4 separate regions of the Homo sapiens genome follow, and regions 2, 3 and 4 are each linked to region 1. Evidence: promoter capture Hi-C in human tissues and cell types (Jung and others, 2019). All regions are on one chromosome and are shown on one strand. Each heading gives the region's core, a stretch centred on a gene start or on the middle of the fragment in contact. The rest is flanking DNA. Distances are from core to core; before and after follow the strand shown.

The links. Contacts are between HindIII fragments. The study calls those that stand out against the background at their distance.
Region 2: the fragment with the promoter of XAB2 here is called in contact with the fragment with the promoter of CTXN1 in region 1 in 1 of the 25 tissues and cell types used here (dorsolateral prefrontal cortex).
Region 3: a contact is called between a fragment that was not itself captured here and the fragment with the promoter of CTXN1 in region 1, in 1 of the 25 tissues and cell types used here (lymphoblastoid cells).
Region 4: a contact is called between the fragment with the promoter of CD320 here and the fragment with the promoter of CTXN1 in region 1, in 1 of the 25 tissues and cell types used here (dorsolateral prefrontal cortex).

Annotation. Positions count from the first base shown.
Region 1 is chr19:7,922,973-7,927,550 of GRCh38, forward strand. It overlaps CTXN1 (cortexin 1), which reads right to left and starts at 3,163. Exons shown (of 2, transcript NM_206833.4): 1 at 2,995-3,163; 2 at 1,519-2,586. The coding sequence starts at 2,566. The coding sequence ends at 2,318. TIMM44 (translocase of inner mitochondrial membrane 44) reads right to left here. Exons shown (of 13, transcript NM_006351.4): 13 at 3,746-4,334. The coding sequence ends at 4,215. LOC124904629 (a long non-coding RNA gene) reads left to right here and starts at 2,433. Exons shown (of 2, transcript XR_007067120.1): 1 at 2,433-2,864; 2 at 3,601-3,838. SNAPC2 (small nuclear RNA activating complex polypeptide 2) reads left to right here. Exons shown (of 5, transcript NM_003083.4): 5 at 1-278. RefSeq lists silencers at 2,458-2,547, 3,078-3,347 and an enhancer at 3,844-4,578. The HindIII fragment of the contact is 9,564 bases long and covers 1-4,578 here.
Region 2 is chr19:7,626,555-7,630,794 of GRCh38, forward strand. It overlaps XAB2 (XPA binding protein 2), which reads right to left and starts at 2,991. Exons shown (of 19, transcript NM_020196.3): 1 at 2,923-2,991; 2 at 1,596-1,744; 3 at 1,174-1,297; 4 at 689-886. The coding sequence starts at 2,973. PET100 (PET100 cytochrome c oxidase chaperone) reads left to right here and starts at 3,239. Exons shown (of 4, transcript NM_001171155.2): 1 at 3,239-3,306; 2 at 4,019-4,105. The coding sequence starts at 3,280. It also overlaps a transcript of STXBP2 not described here. RefSeq lists enhancers at 2,903-3,022, 3,283-3,332. The HindIII fragment of the contact is 19,448 bases long and covers 1-4,240 here.
Region 3 is chr19:7,608,699-7,613,659 of GRCh38, forward strand. CAMSAP3 (calmodulin regulated spectrin associated protein family member 3) reads left to right here. Exons shown (of 17, transcript NM_020902.2): 6 at 1,778-1,917; 7 at 2,002-2,095; 8 at 2,179-2,233; 9 at 2,397-2,470; 10 at 2,819-2,888; 11 at 2,989-4,465. Among named protein-coding and RNA genes, the nearest start is that of MIR6792, 6.3 kb to the right of the region's middle. The HindIII fragment of the contact is 6,069 bases long and covers 1-4,664 here.
Region 4 is chr19:8,307,108-8,312,019 of GRCh38, forward strand. It overlaps CD320 (CD320 molecule), which reads right to left and starts at 1,251. Exons shown (of 5, transcript NM_016579.4): 1 at 1,042-1,251. The coding sequence starts at 1,183. NDUFA7 (NADH:ubiquinone oxidoreductase subunit A7) reads right to left here. Exons shown (of 4, transcript NM_005001.5): 4 at 4,177-4,488. The coding sequence ends at 4,398. RefSeq lists enhancers at 14-754, 741-870, 755-1,494, 1,550-2,079, 4,834-4,912 and silencers at 951-1,040, 1,015-1,353. The HindIII fragment of the contact is 38,311 bases long and covers 1-4,912 here.

The sequences.
Region 1 (4,578 bases), core at 1,913-4,412:
ACTCCACTCACAAGCCTCCTGATGTCAAGGACAGGCGGACAGGGCTGGCCTCCCCCAGTCCCCAAGCCCCACTGTGCCTTGTTGTCTGCTGGGGGGCCATAGCTGGCACTGCCCACCGTAAAGGCCCTCGCACATTTTCCCCCTTCCTGTACACCTCGGGGCCAGCATCCTCACCTTCTTCAACTGACCAGTCGTGGTTACTCCCTGCTGCCAGGTCCTTCCCCTTCCCGGGGGTATTCTGTGACCATGAATAAAGTTATCATTCTCTTTCTCTTTCACCTGTGACTTAAAGATGGAAGTGGGGGCCCTGAAGTGTCAGAGCTTGGGGGTCACAGGGCTGGGGGTGTGTGCCAGGGAGGAGAGCTGCCACCTGACTGGTGTGATGAGGCCTGGGGTGAGGAGCCCCTTGGTGACTGTGAAGCTGACAAGTGTGGATGGGGAGAGCCGGCAGGGCACCTTGGGGACAGGCGTCAGGGATGGGTTTCAGAGTAGGGCAAAATCACATCGCACAGGTGGAGGGGAGAAGGCAGCAGAGAGTGGGGGTGACCCGGTGGAAGGAGTTGAGCCCCAGGCTGGGCGGTTAGAGGAAGATAGATAGGGGTGGGCTGCCCCGAGTGGCAGGAGGCTAGTGGGAGTGGAGTGTCCCCTGGGGTGGCTTTGGGACCTCAAGGATCCCTAGAAGGCGGGGAGGGAGGGGTACTGGAGTCAGGGCTGACCCCAAACCCCTGGGGGTGCTGGGACCCCGCTTGAGGCCCCCTCCATCAGCTTCACCTGCCCTGTGGGTGTGGACCGAGGGTCGGGTCCTAGAGAGGGAAGCAGATGTCCTCCCACGGCACCGCGTCCCACGCCCAGCTAGTAATCCAAGTCGGTAAATTCTCCGTTCTCGGAGCCTGTGCATTCACCCAGCCTGCCTTTTATAGAAACGCTCATTCCTCCCCCCACACACTGCACACGGCTCCCCTGGGGTGCACATCTCTTGGGAGGGCCTTGGAGCACAGCCAGCCCACTCCGTCCGTGGTCACCGCCCCACCGCACCAGACCCACAAACGCTGCCAATGGTGGTGGGCAGGGGGAGGAGGCTTAGGCTGCAGGTACGGTCGGTCGTCGGAGCCTCCCTCCAGGGCTGGCAGAGGGTGCGCCTCCCAGTTCCCCACAGGGCTGAGTCTCTCTCACCACCCCCGGCGCCTCCCCAGATCAACAGAATTGTGTGTGGAGGGGAGGCAGCTGGGGGTTACACATCAGCCCCCCCCCCCAAAGCCGGTGAAAGGTGCTTGTGATCTTGGTGTCTTTGCAGCCCTGGGAAGCTTTAAAAACATGCAAAAGCCAGACCTGGGTTCCACTTCCAGCCCTACCAGACTCTAGCCATGTGACTGTGGGCAAGTCAGTCACTGGAGCTGCCTGGCCCTCGGTCTCCTGGCCTGTAGAATAGGGATGCTAACAGGGCCTGGCTCATTCTCACGATCCCGAAGAGGAGACAGGCTATAAACAGGAGGTGCCAACTCAGCACGCTACTTGGCATGCAGTAAGCGCTCAATAATAGCTTTTATTATCATGTTCGGCTCAGAGGCAGGGAGGAGTGGAACGGCATGGGAGGGCTGCGGGAGGCACGGCAGGGGGGTCAGGGGCAAGTGGCAGGAGGGCGGATGGGGGGCAGCGGTGGGCACCGGGGCAGGGCGCGCTGACCTGTCCTGGGGCCCGGGTTGGGGGCAGAAATGAGCCTGCCCACGCTGTCCCGCCACGGCAGGCGCCACGCATCCTCGACACAGCCGCCATGGCAGGCCTTCGGGCTCCGTCTCCGGGACAGGCGGTGCAGGGCAAATTGGTATGCAGCGTCCGCCCCGTGGGCCCGGGAGAGCCTGCCCCGCAGGGACCAGAGCCCAAGGACGGGCTCAACACTCAGTCAAGGTGGGGTTGACGACGGCCAGACAACAGGGGAGGGAGGAGGGACAAGGGGGTCCCCACTTCCAGGGACGCACAATAGCAGAGCCACTTACACGCTGGGGAGGGGGCGGTGCGGGGGTCCTCCTCCCGCCCGGGATTCAGAGTCGGGGGTGGGGGCCAGCCGGGCGGGTGAGATGCGCAGAGAGGAAGGGACAGGGCGGATAAAGGCACGAGGTGGGGCTCCGGCCAGGCCAGGAAGGGACATGGGAGGGGTCTCGAGGGGGAGGGGCTGGGCTTCTCCCAACTCCCTCCCCCTCTCCCCCGGGCTGGGGGCTCCGGGGCGGGATCCTGAGCGCAGTCCTGGCCCCGCGGCGCCCCCCGCCGGGCCGGCCCTCTGAGACCCCGGCGCAGGGCCGGCTAGGGGGCGCCGCGCCCCTCACACCAACGCGTAGTCGAACTGCCCGCGCTCGAGCGCCTCCTTGTGGTCGGTCCAGGACGAGGCGGGCATGCGGCTGTAGGGGTCGAGCAGGATGCGCACGCAGCGCACCATCAACAGCACCAGCACCACGAGCAGGCAGAGCACGAAGGCGAACACCGTGCGCTGCTCCGCGTCCAGGCCCGCGCCCACCGGGGGCCCCGTCGACGGCGGCAGGGGCTCCGGCGACAGCGTCCACGTCGCGCTCATGGCTCACATCGCCGCGCGCCCTGCGGAGGAGGGGACCCGCCCCGGGCGCCGGGGATGAGGCTGCGCCCTCCCTCCCGCGCCTCCTCCGCTTCGCCCCCTCCTGCCGCCGCCGCCGCCGCCTCCCTTAACGTGCCCGACCCCATCCCCCGCCCGCGCCTCGGTCCCCGGGCTACGCCCATGCCCGGCCCGCCGGATCGCCGCCACCACCACGCGGGGACCCAACTCTGGCCGTGCGCGCAGGTGGGGGCGCTGAGAGCCGGGAAACGGAGCCGCGCCCGGCCTGGGCCGCACACAACAGGTGCGAAAGCGCGGCCGCGGCCCGGGCGCGCGGCGTGGGGACGGTCCCCGCGGCCCCTGCCCCCGCTCCCTTTGTTCTCGGCGGCCTGGGACCCCCTCCCCCACCGCCCCCGCCCCGGCGCGCCCCTCACCCTGGCTTCGACCCGGACGGGGACCGACCGCCCGGCGGCCGCGCTCTCTCAGGGACCCGCGCCGGCTGCGCGTTCGGCCTCTCCCCGGCGGCGGCGGCGGCGGCCCGGGCTCCGGCTCAGCCCACCCCACCCGCCCCTGGAGCGGCGGAGACCGAGGCAGGCAAGCAGCGCGCGAGCCGGGCCGCCGCGGCTGTTCCTATGGCGACGGGGGCGGGGCCGCCGCGGGGGGCGGGGCTGCAGGGGGCGGAGGCTGCGCAGGGAGCGGCGCGCGAGCCAGCGACCCCGCCCGGGCCTGCGGGAGGACGGAACCCCAGCCCCGAGGACCCGCGAGCACCCACGACCTCGCCGGGGAGTGGGCAGCTGCCACTCCCACCTCCCCTGGCACTTCGGGCCCCCCAGCCTGCCCTGTGCCTGCATTCTCCTCCGCGATAGACCCCACTCGAGACTCCCTGTTTGTGGGGGGACCTCAGTGGCCCTAAAACACTCATATGGGCACTCAAGCTCCCCCGGCCCTGGGGACCTCAATTCTCAGAGAGCTCAGGCAGGTCACTGGGATGAGTAAGTCCCCCTAGTTTTGTCTGTCACTGGCCTCGTCTTCCAACTCAGGGTCCAGCCCTGGGCAAGGCGTCCACCCACTGCGGCTGCAGTTCCTCACTCGACCTTGACCGCCTCCCACAGCAGCCGCCTGCTCCCACCCCCACCATCGCCTCGGCCACTCCCGCGCCAGAGAAGACACTTCAGACTCCGTAGCTGCTCTTCTGCAATTCGGTGTTTTATTCTTTCCAAATCTCAGGCTTATGCACAAGATGGAAGAGCACTGTTAAAATTAAAAAATGGACCTAAAGTGGCTTGGCTGACGTGGCTAGCGGGCCACTGAGCCGCGGGTCCCGGGTCCCACCCTGCTGTGGGGGGAGTCCCTGGGCCCTGGGGCCTCTTGGCACTGTGTGACCTGTGTGCACCCCAGGTGACCAGGCGCCGGGACCCCTGCAGGGCAGAGCAACAGGGCAGGGGTTGGCCCTGCGGGGGAGTGTCTCCAGCTGCCGCGCACCCGCAACAGCCCGTTGTCCCCTCCCGGGCCAGCTGGTCTTGCAGCCGTCCTGGCAGAGCTGGGGGCAGAGCCCGCAGTCTTGTTCCCAGAGGTCTGGAGTTGCCGCAGGTGGTGTTGCGGTGCCTCTGTGCCTGATGACCCAGGCCGGGGCTACCTGGCTCCGGCACCACACTCAGAGAATCTGCTCGGTGCTGGAGGCCGAGATGTCCAGGAGCCGCCAGGCCGCGTAGGGGTTGAGCTCGTCCTGGTCTCGGCAGAGCGCCCACACGTACAGCATCCGCAGCACCTTGTCCTGCAGGGTGGGGTGGGAAGGGCACTGTTGAGAGGGTTGAGGTGACCCAGGCAGCTCTGGGGGGGGGCCAGGCTCTGTGGGGCAGGAGCCACCGGCAACTTCCCCAGGGGCTGGGAGCAGAGGCCAGCACAATTGCCTAGACTCAGGAACCACTCAGCCTTGGTAAAAACAGACAGGTCTGCTGGTCTCCGACCTCCCTCAACCCCAAACTCTGGCCCAGAGGTTTCTCCACATCCCCACCCAG
Region 2 (4,240 bases), core at 1,741-4,240, 300 kb before region 1:
CCGCAAGGGCACAGCCTTGACTGCGGTGGTCCAGTCTCAGCCCCAATGGTCCAGCCTTGGTCCTTTTGGGTTAGAATTGACCCCCAACCCACAATGGGTCCAGCCTTGGCTCCACTAGTCCAGCCTCAGTCCTGACTGGTCTAGCCTTGGCCCCTTTGGGTCAGCCTTGATCCCATGGGTCCAGCCTTGACTATAGTGTCCAGCCTGGGCCCCACGGGTCCAGCCTCAGTCCTGACTGGTCCAGCTTAGAATCCAAACGTCATAAAACAGATACTTTAAGTTTGAGCAAACCATGCCCCACTCCCGCCCGGCTGGTGCTTCCACTCTCCACCCTGCCTGCTTCTCCCCACCCCTATTCCTGGCCCTCTTCATGGCTGTGGTTTTACTCTAGTTCATGCCATCAGCTCATATGCATCTGTCTTCCTACTTAGACTAAAAGCTCCGTGCAGGCAGGGAGTGTCTTAGTCACACTGTCCTCAGCACCCATCGCTATGCCTAATGTGAAACCAGTGTGAACAAACTATTTGGAAAATAAAGACATGAATCACGGACAACAACAAAACACATGCATCTCCAGGAGCCTCTTCCCACATCCCGTCTGCTGGGTGACATCCTACGCGGAGCTAGTGTCACAGTGAGGCCGTTTCTGGAAACTAACCTGGGGAACCAGCGCACCTGCTAGGCTCACCTTGAGGAAGCGCCGATAGCCTCGCACAGCTGTCTCAGGCAGTGGGTGTGAGCGCAGGAAGCGCAGATACAGGGGCCAAATTCGAGAGTGCTGCGTGATGGGCAGTGCCCGGAGGGCACGGTCGAAGGTGCGGCGGGTGTGTGTGACGCGCCCCTGGTCCATGAGGAACTGGCAGTAATCTAGCCACAGACGAGGCATCTGGGGGTGTGGGGAGAGGCGGCTGGGGCTAAGCCACGGACTCCATGGCCTGGCCACAGACACTCGATGTCCTGTGGCTGAGCCACACCTGGGGCCACCACATAAATGCGGCGGGACCCAGAAACCCCCAGCTCCAGGACTGAGTCCAGCCCAACTTCCCATGCAAAGAAGCAACAGGAATCCAAGCCCCCATCCCTAACATGCTGAGCCCAGCCCCTGTCCCCGCCCCACCCACCACCATGGACTGAGCTCCACTTCCCGATTCATCCCCTCGCCGAGCCCCAAACCTTGTGCATGAACACAAAGGCCCTCTCATGACAGTTGTTGACATCTTCATAGGCAGGGTCGGTCACACAGCGATGCTTCACCTGTGCCCGACGCGCCTTCAGGTATCGGTACCAGAGTTTGTAGCTGGGGAATAGGAGGGGACAGATGCTGATCGGTCAGCTTTATGGACACCCCCAGAACCATTTGCCCTGCCCCAGTTGGCAAATGTGGGAAGAAGGGGTGTGGGAGGGGTGACATGTCTCAGCAATGACAGGGACAGACTGGGACATCAGAGAAGGTGTGCTGACCCATCAAGGGATGTACAGGTCAGTGATGAAACACGAAGCAATCACCCGGGACCCGGGACCCACTTGGCAGTTTTGTTATAACTGGACCAGGTGGGGTGGGGGCTGGTGGGCAGGGCAGCTGGAGCCATTCCCACCTGCAGGGCAGCAGCTTGAGTGCCCGCTCGTATAGCTGATTGAGCCTGGGCTTCGGGGCGCCCTGTTTGAACTCGATGTAGCGAAGCCAGCATTTGACAGAGAATTGGTTCCGCATGATTTCCTCCTCATAGGGGAGGTCCTCTTCCTCCTGCCAGGGCCAGGGAATGGGAAGAAGAGAGGCCTACCCTCAGAGCCTGTGTGCAGCACCATCCCACTGCTGGGGCTCAGGTCCAAACTCCGGACTTTTACCTAGATCCCACCACCCACCAAGGAAGTCAGGTCACCAGATGCCCAGGCACCAAACCAGATGCCCGACACCAAGACAGTGGCCCAGACCTTTACCCCTCAGAATTCAACTACCCAAAATCGAACCCAAATCATCAGACTTCTCAGTCATTAGGGCTCTGGGCCAGGAATGAGTCCGCATCACCACTCGCTTTCTGCCCCAGATGGTCAGACTCCTTAGATACCAAGGCCCTGGCCCAGATGCCAGTCCTGGACACCAGACCCCACTTCTTCAAAACGTGCCTCTTCCCAGACACCAGGCCTTTGGCCCCTCAGACTCCCACTGTCACCATCTGACCCATCTCCACCCCAGGCCCAGATGACCAGATCTTTACCCCAGCCACCAGGGCTCTCAGGTCCAGATTCCAAGCCACTAGCCCCGCCCCCAGGATCCCACTAGCCAGCGTCTAGCTCAACTCTGCCCCAGAAATTAAAAGCTAGGCCTTTATCTCACAGGAGGAGTTATACACCAGAAGCCAAGCCTTTAACTCTGCACACCAAGAATCTGGTGAAGATGTCACGCCTCTACTCCAGAGAGTAAGTATTTCACTGGCCATCGCCTGACAAGCTCCACATCACCAGGGTTCTTCTAGCCTGGCCACCACCCCAGAAACTGTCATGCTGCAGTCCAGGCCTAGAGACCGCTATCCAGAAAACCAAGCCTTCATCCCAGAAACCAGAACCCTGGCCTCGTAAGCAAGCCTTTACTTCAGACACCGATCTTCACCTCTCAAGGTTCAGTTATGCGATCTTCCTCCTCTCCCATTCCCTGCACGCCCCCATTTCCGCCCCTGGTTCGGGAGGCTAGACGCTTCCCTTCGACAGTGGTTTTCTACTCAGACCCGAAGATACAACACCATATTTTTACTCCTGGACAGTTCGGTGCGGACATGACGATCCGGTCTCTGGCCCATTAGGGTTCCCAGACCTTGGCCTGGCAGTTTCGGCCTAAATCTCCTTGCCGACCCAGCCTCGATCCCCTGCGGCGTCCAGGTCCCAATGCCCCAACGCAGGCCACCCCCGGCTCCTCTGTGGACTCACGAAGACAAGGTCCGGCCGCTCGGGCCGCGAGAGTCGCGCCATCACCACCATTTTTCTGGATGCCCAGGTACAGGAGAGAGTCGCGCGCTTATGACGTCTACCACTGACGGCCCGCCCCTCCGAGCCAGACCCGTTTTCTATTGGTTAAATCATTTTTGACGGACAGGCCCACGTTATTGACTTCTTTTCGACGACGCCAGCGACCGGAAGCAGAATAGAGGCGCCAGAAGATGCGCCATCAGGATACACATTGGCCAATCAGCTTCAGCAATGGAGCGTGCAAAACACCAGTGAGCTTCTGTCTTGCTGGAGGGTCGGCTTTGGGCGGAACTGGCTTTGTTGACCGGGAGAAACGAGATGGGGGTGAAGCTGGAGATATTTCGGGTCAGTGGACACAGGAGTGGGTTGGGAGGCTGGGCAGGGGATCTTCCTGGATCTGAAGATGAGGTTGGAAATGGGGGGACTTCAAAGGAAGAGGGAGCTCCAAGGAGAAAGCTCTTAAGATTTGAGAGGAACCTTTCTGGTTGGAAATCCAGGAGAGGGGACGCTGGGCTGGGGGGGTTCTCGGATTTGGGCTTCTGGGTTTGGGGGCTGTGAGAGGGCTGGTCCGAGGAAGGACCTCAGAGAGGGGTGAGCTGAGAAGGGGGCTCTAAAGAAGGAAGACTTAAGATCCTGGGGGAGCTCTCGGGCTCGTGGTGGGTGGGTGTCTATGACAGGGAGATTCCTAGACTTCGAGAAGTGGAGTTGAAGAGTGACGCCTCCTGGGTTTGGGGGTGCTCCCGGGATCTTAAGTGGGGATGGGTAATGAGGTCTCGAGGAGATGCTTTTGATTGTAGCTGGGGCGTCTGTGTGTCTGTCTGTGTTTGAGAGGAAGACTCCAGCTCAGAGGGAACTTTCAGGAATGAGGCCTCCTGGATTATAGGAGTTAGGTTTTAGGGTGCGAGGTTTCTGTACCCTTGGTGGGAGTTCTGGGATTCTTGGGTCGGCCGTAACGAGGCGCTTCTGGACTCTGCAGTAGGATGGGTCCCCCAGGCTCTGAGGAGCCTCTGCACATTGCTTGGGGGGAGCTCACCTCACCCACCCTCTGCCATTCCAGATGATAATCTACCTCACTTTCCCTGTGGCTATGTTCTGGGTTTCCAATCAGGCCGAGTGGTTTGAGGACGATGTCATACAGCGCAAGGTGGGCATAAGAGGAGTGTTTGAGGGTTCATTCCAGGGGTGGGAGAGGGTGTGGGGCAGCAGTCTGCTGGGGACTAATGTCTGCCTCCCATAAGCCGACCCTGCCCTGATGTGGGGCTCTGGAGGCCTTTGGCTC
Region 3 (4,961 bases), core at 380-2,879, 320 kb before region 1:
ATCTCGGCTCACTGCAACCTCCACCTCCCAGGTTCAAGCCATTCTCCTGCCTCAGCCTCCTGAGTAGCTGGGACTACAGCCACACGCCACCACGCCTGGCTAATTTTTGTATTTTTAGTAGAGACGGGTTTCACCGTGTTGGCCAGGCTGGTGTCGAATTCCTGACCTCAAGTGATCTGCCTACCTTGGCCTCCCTAAGTGCTGGGATTGCAAGTGTGAACCACTGCACCCGGCCCAGAAGTACTTTTTGCATACTGGGTAGTCCTAAAGGCAATGGGTGGTCAGAAAAAGCTTTTTTTAAAAAAACTCTTTTTTCTTTTTTATTAAAAAAAAAATTATAGGGCTGGGTGTGGTGGCTCACGCCTGTAATCCCAGCAGTTTGGGAGGCCGAGGCGGGTGGATCACGAGGTCACGAGTTCAAGACCAGCCTGGCCAGGATGGTGAAACCGTCTCTACTAAAAATACAGAAATTAGCCGGGTGCGGTGGCGGGCGCCTGTAATCCCAGCTACACAGGAGGCTGAGGCAGGAGAATCGCTTGAACCCAGGAAGTGGAGGTTGCAGTGAGTCAAGACCATGCCATTGCACTCTAGCCTGGGCAACAGAGCGAGACTCCATCTCAAAAAAAAAAAAAAAAAAGTATAAAATAGAGATGGGGTCTTGCTATGTTGCCCAAGCTGGTCTTGAATCCCTGGGCTCAAACATCCTCCCACCTCAGCCTCCCCAAGTGCTAAGATTACAGGTGTGAGCCACCACACCTGGCCCGGAAAAGCTTTTTGAGCTGAGGTCTTGGGGGAGAGTGTTCTAGAAAGATGCAAAGGCCTAAGGCAATAGTCACCAACTTTTTGGCTCCAGGGACCGGTTTTGTGGAAGACAATTTTTCCACAGATGGAGGCAGGGAGGTGGTCTTGGGATAATTCAAGCACGTTAATCTTTATTATGTACTTTATATCTAATACGTTGTAACATAGAATGAAATAATTCTACAACTCATCATCATGGGGAACCAGTGGGAGCCCTGAGCTTGTTCCTGCAACTAGACGGTCCCAGCTGGGGGTGATGAGAGACAGTGACAGATCATCAGGCATTCGATTTTCATAAGGAGGGTGCAACCTAGATCCCTCACACGCCAGGTTCACAATAGGGTTCGCGCTCCTGTAAGAATCGAATGCCGCCGCTGATCTGACGGAAGCGGGGTTCGGGTGGTCCTGCAAGTGACGGGGAGCGGCTGTAAATACACTCACTGCAGCTCACCTGCTGTACGGTTCAGTTCCTGACAGGCCACGCCCCGGGGGTTAAGGACCCCCGGCCTAAGGACGGTCTATCATATAATTCACCTCGGCCGGGTACAGTGGCTCACGCCTGTAATCCCAGCACTTTGGGTGGCTGAGGCGGCCGGATCATGAAGTCAGGAGATCGAGACCATCCTGGCTAACACGGTGAAACCCCATCTCTACTAAAACCACAAAAAATTAGCCTGGTGTTGTGGCACACTCCTGTAATCCCAGCTACTCAGGAGGCTGAGGTGGGAGAATCACTTGAACCCGGGAGGCAGAGGTTGCAGTGAGCTGGGATTGCGCCACTGCACTACAGCCTGGGTGACAGAGCGAGACTCCATCTCAAAAAAAAAAAAAAAAGAATTCACCTCTCGAAGGGCACCTGGCAGAAGCTGGGCTCATAGGAGGTCTTCCGTGTGTGGGGGACTGCTGGTCCCTGGCTTCCCTGGGGCCCCATCCTCCTCCTCATAGAGTTGGGGACCCACTCCTCCTGTCCCCACAGAGGTGTGCTTGAAGGACCCCATGTCTGTGGCGGACAGCCTGTACAACCTCCAGCTCGTGCAGGATTTCTGTGCCTCTCGCCTTCCTCGTGGCTGCCCCCTGTCCCTTGAGGACTTGCTGTACGTCCCACCGCCACTCAAGGTAAGGCCATCCTGGGGCCTCCTGGGCCGAGGCGGGCATCTGGGGCCAGGGGTCCCGTCTGCTGACCCGGCCTCCCACCTCCAGGTCAACTTGGTGGTGATGCTGGCCGAGTTGTTCATGTGTTTTGAGGTGCTCAAGCCCGACTTTGTGCAAGTGAAGGACTTGCCCGATGGTCACGGTGAGGCCCTGGGGGCCTGGGGGCCGGGTCGGGGGCGGGTGGGAGAGCCAAACCCCCGCCTGACCCTCTTCTCTGTACTGCAGCTGCCTCCCCCCGGGGCACTGAGGCCTCCCCACCTCAGAACAACAGCGGCAGTAGGTACGCTCCCCACACTGGGCGAGTCTCTGGCATTGTGGGTGTGGGGCTCCATGTCTGCCTTGCTGAGCACTGGGACGCAGCTGGGTGATGCTGTTGTCTCCCCCCGGGGAGAGGCGGAGGAGGAGGTGGGGGTCCTGAGGCTGAAGTACGTCTCTCCGTACAGTTCTCCTGTCTTCACCTTCCGCCACCCGCTTCTGTCATCTGGTGGCCCCCAGTCCCCACTCCGAGGATCCACAGGTGAGGAGGGGGTAGGTGGCTTCTGTCACGGGGGACCCCCCCACTCACAGACTGCCCCAGTGGGCCTCATGTTGTCTCCTCGTGAGCCTTCCAATAGCCTCTCCATCAGATCCCCCTTGGGCATCCCAAAGTGACCCCCAGAATGGCCTCCCCAGTGGCCCCACAGTACCCCGTAGTGACAGTAAATGGCCCCGGGTATCTGTTTCTGGAAACCTCTGGTCTCACTAGACCACATAATGAGCCATCAGTGACTCACCCAATGACCTTGCAGAGGTTGTCCCCAGATGCTGGCTGACCCCACTCAGGGTTCCCAGGGTCCCCATAGTGACCACTCATCGCCTCCCCCAGGCTCCCTGAAGTCTTCCCCGTCCATGTCCCATATGGAGGCCCTGGGCAAGGCCTGGAACCGGCAGCTCAGGTGAGTAGACCTCACAGGCCAGGGTAGGGGGTGGAGCAGGCTAGGGCGGGTTGGGGCCGAGGCTGGTCCCAGGGGCTGACCCCTCCCTCCGGCCGCCCAGCCGTCCCCTCTCCCAGGCTGTGTCATTCAGCACCCCCTTTGGCCTGGACAGCGACGTGGATGTCGTCATGGGAGACCCTGTGCTCCTCCGCTCTGTGAGCTCGGACAGCCTGGGCCCCCCGCGTCCCGCGCCGGCCAGGACCCCCACCCAGCCACCCCCGGAGCCTGGTGACCTGCCCACCATCGAGGAAGCTCTGCAGATCATCCACAGTGCCGAGCCCCGGCTCCTCCCAGATGGGGCGGCCGACGGCAGCTTCTACCTCCACTCCCCTGAGGGGCCCTCCAAGCCATCCCTGGCCTCCCCCTACCTGCCCGAGGGGACCTCCAAACCACTGTCCGACAGGCCCACCAAAGCACCAGTGTACATGCCACACCCCGAGACCCCCTCGAAACCATCTCCCTGTCTGGTGGGGGAGGCATCGAAACCGCCAGCCCCATCCGAGGGGTCCCCGAAGGCGGTGGCTTCGTCCCCAGCAGCCACCAACTCCGAGGTGAAAATGACCAGCTTTGCAGAACGCAAGAAACAGCTGGTGAAGGCAGAGGCTGAGGCCGGAGCGGGGTCCCCCACGTCCACTCCGGCCCCGCCGGAGGCCCTGAGCTCGGAGATGAGTGAGCTCAGCGCCCGGCTGGAGGAGAAACGCAGAGCCATCGAGGCTCAGAAGCGACGGATTGAGGCCATATTCGCCAAGCACCGCCAGCGGCTGGGCAAAAGCGCCTTCCTGCAGGTGCAGCCGCGGGAAGCCTCTGGGGAGGCGGAAGCAGAGGCGGAGGAGGCCGATTCCGGTCCAGTCCCTGGTGGGGAGCGGCCCGCAGGCGAGGGCCAGGGTGAGCCAACCTCACGGCCCAAGGCAGTGACCTTCTCGCCAGACCTGGGCCCGGTGCCCCACGAGGGGCTGGGGGAATACAATCGAGCGGTCAGCAAGCTGAGTGCCGCCTTGAGCTCGCTGCAGCGGGACATGCAGAGGCTCACGGACCAGCAGCAGCGGCTCCTGGCCCCGCCCGAGGCCCCCGGATCCGCCCCACCACCTGCTGCGTGGGTCATCCCTGGCCCCACGACGGGGCCCAAAGCTGCATCCCCCAGCCCCGCCCGGCGAGTCCCGGCCACCCGGCGCAGCCCTGGGCCCGGGCCCAGCCAGTCACCCCGCAGCCCGAAACACACGCGGCCAGCGGAGCTGCGGCTGGCACCCTTGACCAGGGTGCTTACGCCACCCCACGACGTAGACAGCCTCCCCCACCTGCGCAAGTTCTCGCCGAGCCAGGTGCCCGTGCAGACGCGCTCTTCCATCCTCCTGGCGGAGGAGACGCCCCCCGAGGAGCCAGCCGCCCGGCCGGGCCTCATCGAGATCCCGCTGGGCAGCCTGGCAGATCCCGCCGCCGAGGACGAGGGAGACGGGAGCCCCGCTGGTGCTGAGGATTCCTTGGAGGAGGAGGCGTCTTCGGAGGGGGAGCCCCGGGTGGGGCTGGGGTTCTTCTACAAGGTGAGTCCCCGAGCAGGTGGCTGGAGGGTCCTGGGCCTGGGGCGGGGGCGGGTGGGGGCGGGGGGAGGTGGACAAACCCACTATTGGATGAATAGGGCTTTACTGAAGGATGGGTGGGCGGGTGGGGGATAGATGGGGAGCCAGGTATGAATGGACAGAACAGGTGTGAGTGGCTGGGTAAGGCCTCCATGGGTGGGAGAGGGGGGAAAGGGACATTTGCACGGTGGGGGGCAGGTATGTGGGGTGACAGGGGCCTCAGATGGGATTTGACCCTGTCTGTTGGGTAAGGACTTCCACAAGGGGCTGTGGGGGTGCAGTGGGGTGAGAGGTCCTCCCCCTGTGGCTTAATGAGTGAGGCCCTCGGGTATGTTTGGGGGTGAGGGGTTTCCAGTGGGGGCTGACCCAGTCATGTCCCTCCCAAACAAGGTATGGGTGGCCGGACAAGGGGGATAGATAGATGTGGGGAGGGGTGGAGAAACAGGGAGGAGTCATGGAT
Region 4 (4,912 bases), core at 1-2,500, 380 kb after region 1:
ATGGTGAAACCCCATCTCTACTAAAAATACAAAAATTAGCCGGGCATGGTGACGGTGCCTGTAGTCCCAAGCTACTCGGGAGGCTGAGGCATGAGAATTGCTTAAACCCGGGAGGCGGAGGGTGCAGTGAGCCAACATTGCACTGCACTCCAGCCAGGGCGACAGAGGGAGACTCAAAAAAAAAAAAACAAAAACTTTTGTACTTGGTTAACGTGAACGCTGCCTCCTTAAAAAAAAACAAACAAAAAAAAACCCAGGAACATTTAACGTGAATGTCAGGGACTTTGGGATGAGTCCAGGGACCTAGAAGTGCGGAATGCACAAAGGAGCTGGGAAAGTGTGTGAGCCTGAGCCCAGGGCTGCAAGTTGGGAGTGCCTGAGTGCACAGGGAGGCCACTCCAACCCTCCAGCTGCCTCTAGGGGTATCAGAGAGGGAGCCCGTCCCCACTGGCCACCAATACCTCTTAGGCCAGGGCGAACACGTCCACGGGGGTATATTCAACTTGTGACCCCAGTCTCTGCGAGAGCCTGCAGTAGCATGGGGGGGAGAGACCTCGCGTTCTCTAAGGATGGAGGACAAAGGAGGAGAGACTGGGAGGGCAGGGACGGTTGCGGAACGGTCACAAGGCCTGGGCGCGAGGGTTTGGAAGGCAAAGGTGCGAGAGGCACCAGGTGACCCGTCCTGCGTGATTAGCGGTCGGACAATCTGAGCCTGCTAAGAGCTTTCCTGACCACGCTGGTATGAAGGGCGGCTTGGAGGTGACAATGGGGGACGACAGGGCACAGCAGGTGTGGAGACGGTGTGCAGGGCCGGAGCAAAACCGTTAAAGGCAGGTGGAGACACCCTCCTCCCCTCCCCCAGCATGGGGTCTTCCTAGCACCAGTGCGCGCCTTCCCACAAGCGATGAAGTCCAAGTCCACGTGCTGGGGGAGTGTCATGAACTGACGTGCGGTGCAGCCAGTGACTAGGCGTTGTCGGTGCGCGGCGGCGGGGCGAAGCCTCGCGAGGGGTGGGAGCCCGCGCTGCGGGGCGTCACTCACCTGCGGCCTGGGCAGAGGTCGGGGTGGAAAGCGGGCTCGCGGCGGCCTCCAGGCCTAGTCCGAGGCCGAGCAGCAGCAGCAGCGCCAGGCCCAGAGCCCCTGTTCGCCACGCTCCAACCTGCGCCATCCAACCGCCGCTCATGCTGTCCCCACAGCGGCGCCGGCCACGCGCTGTCCAGACCGCTCTCTTATCCCTGCGCACGCGCACGCGCGGGGTTGGGGCGGGGCCCAAGCCCCTGAGTTCTGCGGCGCCCGCGGCTACGCGTACCGTAAATGTCAGAATAGCAGGGAAAAGAGAATTAGAGGCCCGTCCCCACTTTCCCCAGTGACCAGATCAGTTGAAAGGTATGGAGCCCGCTTGAAGTTAGAAACTTCTGGGGATGGGAAGGAATTTGTTGGTGTTCATTTGCATTATTTCCCGTTCCAAATGAGGACTGCTGCAAATGTTACTGCCTCGTGATCTTCTTTAATATGGCAGCCACGCCCCTCAGGCACTCCGCATTTCCTCCCTCATCCCACTGCTTTTGTGGCGCCGACAGGTAATTTATTTTATTTACTTATTCTGGTTTGTTGTCCGAGTCCCCATAGAATGCTAGCTACTGGAGGGCAGGGATCTTCTGTTGCTCACTGCTTTATTCTCAGGATCTGACACATAGTGCTTGACTCATAGTAGGCTCTTAGTAAACATTTGGTGAGTAAATGAATAAATGAAACGTCCATTCTCGGAGTCGGGTTGCTTGGGGGGGAAAAAGGAAAGGAAATCAATTAATTAATTAAATTTAATAATAAAGGCCGGGCGCGGTGGGTCACGTGTGTGATCCCAGCATTTTGGGAAGCAGAGGCGGGCAGATCGCTTGAGCCCAGGAGTTCGAGATCAGCCTGGGCAACACAGCAAGTCCCCGCCCGCCTCAAGAAAAAAGAAAATTAGCTGGGCATGGTGGCTCTAATTTGTAGTCCCAGCTACTCAGGAGGCTGAGGTGGGAGAATCACTTGGGGCTGCACTCCAGCGTGGGTGACAGTGAGACCCCATTTGTTAGAAAAGTTGGCCGGCGCGCTGGCTCACGCCTGTTAACCCCAGCACTTTGGGAGGCCGAGGCAGGCGGATCACGAGGTCAGGAGTTCTAAACCAGCCTGGCCAACATAGTAAAACTCCCGTCTCTACCAAAAATACAAAAATTAGCCGGGTGTGGTAACATGCTCCTGTAGTCCCAGCTACTAGGGAGGCTGAGATGGGAGAATCGCTTGAACCCGGGAGGCGGAGGTTGCAGTGCGCCGAGACCACATCATTGAACTCCAGCCTGGGTGACAGAGTGAGACTCTGTCTCAAAAAAAAAAAAAAGTTGTGGTCATAAAACTTGGTTCAGATGCCGTCAGCGGCATGCCTTGCCTAGGGTCTTGCCCTCCTTGTGGCCTCTGCACACCCTGCCTAGTCTTTCCTTCCCTCCTGACCTTTCTGAATCTGATTCATCCTTTTGCCCCAAGCAGAATCCCACCTTCTCCAGGAAGGTGTTAGCCTTTGTAGGACCCACTCTGGGACACTGGTACCTGCTGCCTGTAGCCGTGGCCTTTCCCCTTCCAGAGGGCAGGGCGGTCTCAGCACCCTCTTGGTCCACAGCTGATCTTTTTTAGCTGCTGAAGGGTCTGGGGCTGTGCCCTGGGGAAGCCATGACACTCCCCTGCGTAGGGTCACTGGGTGGCTCCTGCAGCCAGACTTGGACACCCTCCCTTTGCAGATTTCTGTCTCCTCCCCAGGAACCAGCTGCCTTCCTTCTGGGGCGAATTCATTCTTATCCCACAGCCCCAGCATAATGGGATCTGGCTCAGGGAGGCCTTTCCTGATCTGCCCTAGGTTTGCCTTCCCTGTGAGCAGCCCTTACTGTCCTCTGCCTTCCCCGTTGAGCTGCAGGGTGACCATGGTCAAGCAGGAGCCTCAGTGGGAAGGTGCTGAGGAAGGTTCATGTGAGAAGTGGCTGTGGGAGCCCTCAAGAGATGGAAGTTAGGCCAGGCGCGGTGGCTCACGCCTGTAATCCCAACACTTCGGGAGGCAGAGGTGGGCGGATCACTTGAGGTCAGGAGTTTGAGACCAGCCTGGCCAACATGGCGAAACCCCGTCTCTACTAAAAATACAAAAATTAGCTGGGCTTGTGGCAGGCGCCTGTAATCCCAGCTACTCGGGAGGCTGAGGCAAGAGAATCACTTGAACCCAGGAGGCAGAGGTTATAGTGAGCCGTGATCGCGCCATTGTACTCTAGCCTGGGCAACAAGAGCGAAACTCTGTCTCAAAAAAAAAAAAGAAGTGAGAAGTCTGTGGCTGGCCTACTGAGTGTCCGCACATACACCCCTTACCCCACCTGACTGGTCTTCACAATCAATGCTCCCCAACAGCCAGCGGTCCTGGGAGTCCAACCTCCCAGAAGGATCACCCACTCCCACCACTCTCAAGGTCAGAGCCTGGCCTTTGGGGGAAAGGGCAGTGCTGTCTCCAGGGCCTCTGCACCCAGGGACAGTGTCTGTCCCACCCCTGGAGTGCCAACAGAGTTGGGAGACTCAGCACTGACTTCACCCCAAAATCCAAGTAAGCTGGGTATTGCTTAAAATCAGGGGCCAGGCGTGGTGGCTCACACCTGTAATCCCAACACTTTGGGAGGCCAAGGCGGGCGGATCACCTGAGGTCAGGAATTTGAGACCAGCCTGGCCATCTCTACAAAAAAAAAAAAAAATTAGCGGGTATGGTGGTGCACACCCGTAGTCCCAGCTACTCGGGAGGCTGAGGCAGAATTGCTTGAGCCCAGGAGGCAGAGGTTGCAGTGACCTGAGATCGTGCCGTTGCGTTCCAGCCTGGGTGACAAGCGCGAAAACTCTGGCTCCTGCAGCCAGATTTCTATCTCCTCCCCAGGAACCAGCTGCCTTCCTTCTGGAGCTAACTCATTCTCATCCCACAGCCCCAGCATAATGGTTTCTGGCTCAGGGAGGCCTTTCCTGATCTGCCCTAGGTCTGCCTTCCCTGTAAGCAGCCCTCACTGTCCTTTGCCTTCCCCGTTGAGCTACAGGGTGACCAAGGTCAAGCAGAGGCCTCAGTGGGAAGGTCTAAAAAATAAAAATAAAATCAGGCCAGGTGTGGTGGCTCATGCCTGTAATCCCAGCACTTTGGGAGGTCAAGGCAGGAGGATCGCTTGAGGCCAGGAGTTCAAGATCAGCCTGGGAAACATGGTGAGACTCTGTCTCTATTTTTTTATTTTTTAAAGTAAAACTAGAAGTGATACCTGAGCTCTACGTATTTGTCATAAATTAGGTCACATTCTCCCTGGAGGAAATCCAAGGAGGCAAAGTAGTCGGGTGGCCGTGAGGGTGCAGTGTCACAGGTAAGGCTGGTCCGAGGACAGCTCCCACCTCTTTATGGGAGGAGCTGGAGTCACCGCCTTCTTCTCAGTGGCAGCTACAGCAGAGCTGGAGGAGGGAAAGACTTCAGTGAGGGTTTCCAAAGAACAGTGTGGAAAGATCTGAGGGAGCCCACACCTGCCCCGGGACAAACACACCCACAGGGACTTTCTGGACCTGCAGGACAGACAGCAGGGTGTTCCAGAATGCCAACCCCTCCAACGCAGCCCCTCAGAGGATCAGCCAACGCCAGGTGGGAGCTAGCAAGCCTCCTCTCTCCCCTGAGCCCTGTATGAACCCCCTGCTGTGGCCCCCAGGCCCAGAACCCACTGTGGAGAGCTGGGCTCCTCCCTTCCCACTTTTGGTCTCCAGCGTACACAAGGCCCCCACCCCCATTCCTGCTGCCCCTCAAAACAGGATGCTGGCAAAAGGGCCAAGCGATCAGGTGACAATGGCCTCCAGCTATTCCTGCCTCAGACTGGGCAAGAACTGC